3 separate regions of the Homo sapiens genome follow, and all the other regions are linked to region 2. Evidence: promoter capture Hi-C in human tissues and cell types (Jung and others, 2019). All regions are on one chromosome and are shown on one strand. The core of a region is centred on a gene start or on the middle of the fragment in contact, and the rest is flanking DNA. Distances in the headings are between cores, read along the strand shown. Region 1 overlaps IFNAR2-IL10RB (IFNAR2-IL10RB readthrough). Region 2 holds the start of DNAJC28 (DnaJ heat shock protein family (Hsp40) member C28). Region 3 has its middle 8.7 kb from the start of IFNAR1.

Region 1 (2,700 bases), core at 158-2,657, 200 kb before region 2:
CAAGAAATAAAAATCAAAATTATGTAGTCACTTATATAACCACTTAAATATAATCATTTAAAAATCCGAAAGCCATGTGAAAAAACAAGTGGTAGGCCGGATCTGCCCCGTGGGCCTTTGTTTGCTGGCCCTGCCCTAGACCCACAGAGCCTCAAATCACAAGGCCAGGGAGCAGCGGTTTCCCCAGTAGGTCACTGGGCATGATGAGGGTGAACAGGGCCACTCCTGCCCTGCGCTTGCTTCCTGACGCAGGTGTTCCACCTGCTGGGGACACAGCCCCACATGATTGTTGGTCTTGGGTGCATGCCAGGGGCTGGAGGACAATGCCTTGCCCTCACCAGGTGTCATCTCCAAGCTGGCGCCTCCCCTGCACTTTCAACAGGCCGCTCCGTCCTTCTTCCAGTCTGGCAGCTGCTGGGTGGTGCAGGGTGGGATACGACCAGGGGGGTCCCGCCTTCACTGTCAGTGGGCCCATTGGTCTGGCACCATGTGATACGGCGTCTCTACTAGTTTGTCGGGGCTGCTGTAGCAAAGTAGCACTCGTTGCGCAGCTGTAACAACGGGAATTGATTCTCTCACGGTTCTCGAGGCCAGACGTCCAAAATCAAGGTGTCACTAGGATGGTTTCCTTGGAGGCTGTGAGGGAGGATCTGTCCCAGGCCTCTACCCTAACTTCTGAGGGTTGCTGGCGATCTTTGGCGTTCCTTGGCTTCTAGAGGCATCACCCAGTCTCTGCCTTGATCTTCACAAGCCTTCTCCCTATGTGAGTGTCTGTGTCCACATTGCCCCTCCTTTATACAGACACCAGTCACGGGAGGAGGGCTCACCCTGCTCCACTATACCCTCATTCTAACTTAACTGATCCCCTCTGCAGCAACCCTATCTCCAAATACAGTCACATTCTGAGGTAGAGGGATTAGGACATATGAATTTCTTTTTTTTTTGGAGACGGAGTCTCACTCTGTCACCCAGGCTGGAGTGGAGTGGCATGATTTCGGCTCAGTGCAAGCTCCGCCTCCTGGGTTCAAGTGATTCTCCTGCCTCAGCCTCCCAAGTAGCTGGGATTACAGGTGCCCTCCACCACGCCCGGCTAATTTTTGTGTTTTTAGTAGAGACAGGGTTTCCCCATGTTGGCCAGGCTGGTCTCAAACTCCTGACCTCAAGTGATCTGCCCGCCCTGGCCTCCCAAAGTGCTGGGATTACAGGCGTGAGCCACAGCGCCTGGCCCAGAACATGAATTTTGTAGGAACAGAATTCAACACCTAACAGGATCCTCTACCAGGAGAGAAAACACCTGTGAAACCTTGGGAATCCTGACAGGCCCTGCAGGACACGAACAGCAAATCACTCCTAAACTAAAGGTTAGCTCCAGCCAGGATGCACCACTGCCCCTTCCAGAGTGGTGCAAGAGTCGACGTCATCAGCTTGCTACCAGGTGGCTGGTCAGTCTCCTCGGGGAATGCCGTCATATCAGGGGCTCAGCATTGATCTCTGTCGCAGGCAGGTTGGACATTCCACAGCAGTGGTGGCTACCCAGCCGTGGGAGTGGGAGCCCCTTCTTTCAGGCCCACGCGCAGCCTCCATCCCTGCCACCACGGCTGCTGTGTTCATGAGCCCTGTGCCATGTACAGGTGACCAGTGGCAGAGGCTGGCTGACATCCACTGGCTGTGTCATCATGTCTCCCTGGCTGTCTGCTGTCTATGATACATGCTCTCAGTGGGAGTTAATATGGGATGCAGAAATCTCCACGCTCCAGCTACTCCCTCAGGTCCATCCTTCTTCCCAAACGTCCTTGTCCCTAACCTTCCAGTCTTCCTTCCCCAGGGCCCCTGACCACCAGGCTTGTCACTAACCCCTGCCTGGGATCCCACAGCTGGCCTGATCTTGGGCTGCTTTTCTTTCCACATAAAGGTGATGATCAGACCCACGGCCCAAAGCTCTGCCCGTGGGGACACTTTCTCCCTGGTTGGGGCTGAAGTGCAGCAGCGGGCCACTTTCGGTGTGTGCCCACATACCATGCTAACCTTGCCATGAAACCAGGCCGGCCTTTCCTCCTACTTCTGCTAGGCATAATTACCCATCCCCCTTTATGGTCATCATGTGAGCAGACACAGACACGGTGCGACAGGGGTAGAGGGGACAGGAGTCCGAGCCACCTGCATGTGGCCAACATGCACCCTCTGACCCCATCTCAGGACCTACTGGGTCTCAGGCCTCATGATGGTCACTTCTGGGCAGCACCATCACCTCGCGTCCCTCGTCAGAAGCTCTGTCTCTGCCGGGACCCCATAGCGTCCCAGGAGCTGCTTTTTCAAACAGAGTACAATTATCTGCTGCAGATGGCCCCGCCTGACCCCAGAACTCTCGTATCTATGTTGTGACTTTCCTCTTGGGATTTGCCATAAACTCCACCCAGCATCTTTTCCCACCCCAGACACTTCAAGGATATGCGAAGTCACACATTCCCCAGGTTGGATTCACAGGCCGTCCCTGGTGGGTAATGTACCAGTCCTGAGGTGTGCATAGGGCTGCAGGCTGCACGGCCCATACCTTCTGCAGGGCCCTTTCCTGCCTGGGGCCCCTCCGTGCCAGCAGCCTCCTGTGTGGTTTGATAAACATATTGGAACAGTCAGTATTCCTAGGCGTGGAACATGCTGCCTCCAGAACCCTGAGGCCTCCACAGCACAATGCTTCCTTCC
Region 2 (2,700 bases), core at 44-2,543:
TATAGCTATATTTCACTGATGTGGGCAGAAAAGTGGAAGCTGATGAAGTTTAGTGTTAACATATTGTGGGGCCAGGCACGGTGGCACACGCCTGTAATCCCAGTACTTTAGGAGGCCGAGGTGGGTGGATCACCTGAGGTCAGGAGTTCGAGATCAGCCTGGCTAACATGGCAAAACCCTGTCTCTACTAAAAATACAAAAATTAACTGGAGGTTGCAGTCCCAGCTACTCGGGAGGCTGAGGCAAGAGAATCGCTTGAACCCGGGAGGTGGAGGTTGCAGTGAACCGAGATCGTGCCACTGCACTCCAGCCTGGGCAACAGAGTGAGACTCTGTCTCAAAAAAATATAGATAGATAGAATCTGGATTCTACCCCTCACTAACTAACCGTATATTTTACAAGTGGAAAGTTCTTAGAGATCATCTAATCCAATCTTCTCATTTAATGAGAAAACGTAGGTCCGGAAGGTTAAGCAATTTAACCAAGTCCCATAACAAGGTGTAAGCAAAATGGTTAGGGGTGGGCACAGTAAAAAAGGAGGCTTGCTTAACTGTCTATACCTCCAGCCGATTATAAACTGCACGAGAGTCTGCATCATCTCAAGAAGTCTTCTCATAAGACGACTTATGGACAAGGTACGTACCTGGTCTGATACTGGATTGAATAGAATCAAGTGTCCAAAAGACTTTAAGCTCCACAGCTCGCTAGGAAGGAGCTATCTGCCAGAGGCCAGAAAAACCATGATGAATTGTGAGGCCTCCCAACACGTTTGCTGCTATTGCAATAACATGGTCTCGAAGAGGAGGAAGACTTGTACACTGACAATGGCCAAAAAATACTGGAAGTGGCTTAATTGGAATTGGGATATATAAACGCTAAAACGGAGCTCCTGAGACCCCCTATTTTCTAGGCAATCGGTGCCAACGGTCTGGGAGCCGGCTGCGAAGGTGGTTATCATGGCAAGGGAGGTCGGTCCTGCCCCGCCCCCTCCTCACCTGCGCAGACCTGGGGTAGGGGTTCCGCGGCTCCCGCCCCCCTGCCGCGCCTCTGCGCATGCGTGCGCGGTCCGCCCTTCACTGCGGGTGTCCCTCCCACCGCCTCCAGCTGGTGCCTCCGCCGGGCTAGACCATTTGCCACTTTACACTGAGGGGCTCGGGGGTACGGAAGGCAGAATCGTACCTGATTGGGACAGGTGACCTTACCAGGAAAACGGACAATCTTCCGCCAAACGAACTTTACCCCGGAGGACCCAGGCAGGGCACCTCGGGAGCCTTCGTCCCGACCGGGGACCACCAGCTCCACCTCCGTCCCCGCCCCGAGCGGAGGTGGTCCGGCCGATTGGGATTGTGGGAGATGTAGTTCGCTAGAAGGGGCGATGTGCGCCTGCGCCTCTCGGGAGGGACTTAGGGGGCGTCGAAAATGATGTAAAGACCGAGTTGGCGGCGTGGGGAGTTGTGGCTCGGAGGGCGAGGGTAACTTTCTGGGGGCAGGGGAAGGCAAGGCTGTTTCCCCGGAACGGGACCGGAACAGGTTTATTCGGGGTCACAGAAGGAGTCACCTGCGCAGATACATGAGGCTTAAAACCTGCCCTTTTATTAATTCAAGTACTGTTGAGGGGCTGGCGACAGGCCAGAGGACAAAATCAAAATAGGGATCTTCTGGCTTGGAGTTCAACCACTGACGTGGGGACTGAGCATTTCCCCTCTCTGTACAGGAAGCAAGTTTTTTAACAAGGAAAAAGAAAAAGGATAAAAAGAAAAAGGCAGAGGCTTGGGAGTTTTCAGATCTGGGTTGAAAATCCTGTTTCTTCTGCTTGCACCTTAGGCAAGATACCTGCAAAATGAGAGTTGCAATAAATAGTAAACTATAGTAAATAGTATGCCATTGTGCTAAGTGCTTTATGTATATTCTCATTTACTTTTTTTTTTTTTTTTTTGAGACAGAGTCTCGCTCTGTCGCCCAGGCTGGAGTGTGGTGGCGCGATCTCGGCTCGCTGCAACCTCCACCTCCCGGGTTTAAGCTATTCTCCTGCCTCAGCCTCCCGAGTAGCTGGAATTACAGGCGCGCACCACCATGCCCAGCTAATTTTTTTGTATTTTTAGTGGAGACCAGGTTTCACCATGTTGGCCAGGCTGGTCTCGAACCCCTGAGCTAAGGTGATCTGCCTGCCTCGGCCTTTCAAAGTGCTGGGATTACAGGCATTCATTTAATCTTTACAACAGCCCTCTGAGATAAATGCTGTTATTTTCCCTATTTTACATATAATGAAATAATAATTGTATCAACTTCATTGACTTTTTTAGGGGGAGAATTACACAATGTATGTAAACCACTTGGCACTGTGCCTCGCACATTAAGCAATATTTTTTGTTATGACTGTGTCTCCTAAAAGGAGCCAGAAATAGGTATTAGCCTCCTCAGCTTCTACATCATAAACATTAGAATCATTTATTGCCATCTATGTAGGAACACAGAAAAAGATACAGTATAAACTCTGATTCTGAGGGCTTTAGTTATAAGCAAACAATCAACAAAATAACTCATGTGAAAGAAAATAGGATTTCTGGCCGGGCGCGGTGCTCACGCCTGTAATCCCAGCACTTTGGGAGGCCGAGGCGGGCGGATCACGAGGTCAGGAGATCGAGACCATCCTGGCTAACACGGTGAAACCCCGTCTCTACTAAAAATACAAAAAATTAG
Region 3 (2,700 bases), core at 48-2,547, 180 kb before region 2:
GAAATTAGCTGATGATCTGGGTGAGAAGAGAATAAGCAAAACGGGACAGAAAGATAAGCTCAGTGGGCTGAGGAATACATAAGTGAGAAAACAAAGATAGTTGTGGACAAATGTAGACAGATTTGGCTACGAATAATAACAGGAAGGACGGCTTCTGGAGTGAAAGCAGCATATACGCCTTTTTAAATTGGGAGAGACTTGAGAATGTGTAACTGTTAACAAGAAGAAACTAAAGAGAGGAGATAAAGTCATGAAAAAACGTAAAAATAATCAACGGATAGCCATCCCTATGAAGGGGTGGCTCACGGAACCAGACAGAGAGATTTTCATTTGACTGAAAGAAGGATGTCTTCCCAACGACAGGGAAAGACAGAATGGAAGCAGGTGCAGGTGAGTTTGAAGTTTTGGTGATGGAGAGCTGAAACCTGATCTGTTGACTGTATTTTCCAAGAAACTAGGAGCTGGGTGGAGGAACATCTGTTGAAAATGAGAAGAAAAGCTGTAGGGTAGAGATGTGAAGTAAGTGTAGGTTTTTAATTTCAGCTCAATTGAGGTTGCAGACTATGAAGTTTTGATCATTGGGGCTATTTGATCCTTCAGGTTTTCTCCAGAAAAACTAGATCTTCCCTCTGAGCCCTCCTGAAGTAGGAAAAACAGTAACCACGATGGTCAGAAAAAAATAACCAAAATTACTGAGCACACTGTGCCAGACACTAAACTAAGCTCTTGGTGTGCATTAACTGATTAAAAATTCATCACACCACTATGATATAGATATTATTATAGTCCCCATGAGGAAGCAGGAAAAAAGATTAAGTAACTTGCCCAAGATCCCAGAGTGACGGAGGTGGGATAGCAACCTAAGTCAACTTCAGAACTCAGACTCTTAACCAGTAGGCCAGTCTCTGTTTAAGAGATACTTAGTTACCACTTGAAAAGGCGTATGGCTGTCTTCCATGTTACTGCTTAAAAACAGACATCTTTCTCAGTATGCAGTGAGCATGCAGCCACACTCAATCTTTCCTCAAGCCATGTGAACACAGACTAGACCTTCAAATATGCTGTTCCCTTTATTTAGAATGCTGTATCCCTCTTCTTTTCCTATCTCCTACTTATACTCTGCCTCCCCTTAAACATCTCTTACTGCAGGTCACCTGCTGCAATGTGTATCCCTCACCACTAAACTAGTTTAGTGTTCCCACCGTTTGCTTCATCATCATCATTATTACTATTTTGAAATAGCATCTCACTCTGTCACCCAGGCTGGAGTGCAGTGGTGTGATCACGGCTCATTGTAGCCTTGACTTCCTGGAGTTCAAGCGATTCTCCAGGCTCAGCCTCCTGAGTAGCTAGGACCACAGGCCTCTGCCACCTCATCCAACTAATTGTATTTTTTGCAGATATGGGGGTCTCTCTTTGTTGTCCAGGCTGGTCTCAAACTCCTGGGCTCAAGTGATCCTCTTGCTGCAGCCTCTCAAAATGCTGGGATTACAGGTGTGAGCCACTGTGCCAGCTTCACTACTATCTTTTACTGAATTGCCTGCCTACTGGGATGAGGAAATGTATAGGATGATAAAGCACCAAGGAGAAAGACATTCTGGAGATTCCAGAGTAGAACGGCTCAGATTCCTTCCTGAACATCCTGGAGCTAGTGTTTGTACACCCTCAAAGTCTGTGCCACTGGGCTGCTACTCAGCTAGGACTCTTCTCCTTTCATCTACCAAACTCTCCTCCCAGAAAGAAGTGAATTTATTCTTCTGGAAGGTTCTAAAGCAGTGATTTCTAATCCAGGGTGCACCCACCCTAGGGGTTTGCGTTGGATTACAGGGTCCACCGAAGTGCAGTGAAATTCTATTTACATTCTTTAATAAGAAATAAATTAAGCTTTTGATATTTGATATATAACCTAGCACAAGCACCTTCACTTGGTCCAAATGCCAGAGCATCACATTGTCACATTCAGTGATGTGTGACACACTTGAGAACAGAGTGAGAAACTCACAAGGTGGAAATGCGCAGCGATGCTTCTGCTTGTACACTTTTGGAGTTTGTGATTATGTCTAACCATTTACTTGGCTTGATGTGTGTTTACAGGTCGTTAGCTAGTTTTAACTAAATTAATGCTCACAAAATGGATGTGACAAGATTCTTGCAAATAAATTGGAAATTAAAGATAGTACTATTAATACACAAGTGAATAAGATAACAGCAGCCTTGACATATTAGCTAATCACAGTATGAAGCCATCACATTAGGAAGACATTTTCCAGAAAAGCAAACCCCCACAATTTCTTTCCAAGAGTGTTTAAAGTCATATGATACTCATTCGTTTTGGTTCTTTACAAAATTTCGTAATTGGTGACAGTGTTTAGAAACTGCTTTGGGGGTTCTTAATAGCAAAAGACAAAAAGCCACATGCCCCTTGTTCTTCTTTCTACAATATGACAAACTAAAATACATTCCTCAGTCAGCAATAGTGTTGGACTGTGTATAGCAAATACGGCTGACAATGCGAAGAAACAAGAGTTCAATTTCACAGTGTGGGAAATCTGCCACGTAATCATATGGAAACATGCTCTAAAGCACAGATGTTTCTAACATGTCTTTTTCCAAAAGTGAAATACCCAAGGAACGACTTTTTCTTTGTTAGCCAAAAAGGGAAAGATAAAATATATACTCAACAGTAATTTACTTCCTTAA

What was found. Contacts are between HindIII fragments. The study calls those that stand out against the background at their distance.
Region 1: a contact is called between a fragment that was not itself captured here and the fragment with the promoter of DNAJC28 in region 2, in 2 of the 25 tissues and cell types used here (IMR-90 fibroblasts and lymphoblastoid cells).
Region 3: a contact is called between a fragment that was not itself captured here and the fragment with the promoter of DNAJC28 in region 2, in 2 of the 25 tissues and cell types used here (dorsolateral prefrontal cortex and mesendoderm cells).

The regions. Positions count from the first base shown.
Region 1 is chr21:33,290,339-33,293,038 of GRCh38, forward strand. All of the region lies in intron 12 of IFNAR2-IL10RB (IFNAR2-IL10RB readthrough), which reads left to right. All of the region lies in intron 6 of IL10RB (interleukin 10 receptor subunit beta), which reads left to right. Among named protein-coding and RNA genes, the nearest start is that of IL10RB, 25 kb to the left of the region's middle. The HindIII fragment of the contact is 8,664 bases long and covers 1-2,700 here.
Region 2 is chr21:33,490,423-33,493,122 of GRCh38, forward strand. DNAJC28 (DnaJ heat shock protein family (Hsp40) member C28) reads right to left here and starts at 1,294. Exons shown (of 2, transcript NM_001040192.3): 1 at 1,180-1,294. The HindIII fragment of the contact is 10,582 bases long and covers 1-2,700 here.
Region 3 is chr21:33,314,885-33,317,584 of GRCh38, forward strand. No RefSeq gene overlaps it. Among named protein-coding and RNA genes, the nearest start is that of IFNAR1, 8.7 kb to the right of the region's middle. The HindIII fragment of the contact is 3,971 bases long and covers 1-2,700 here.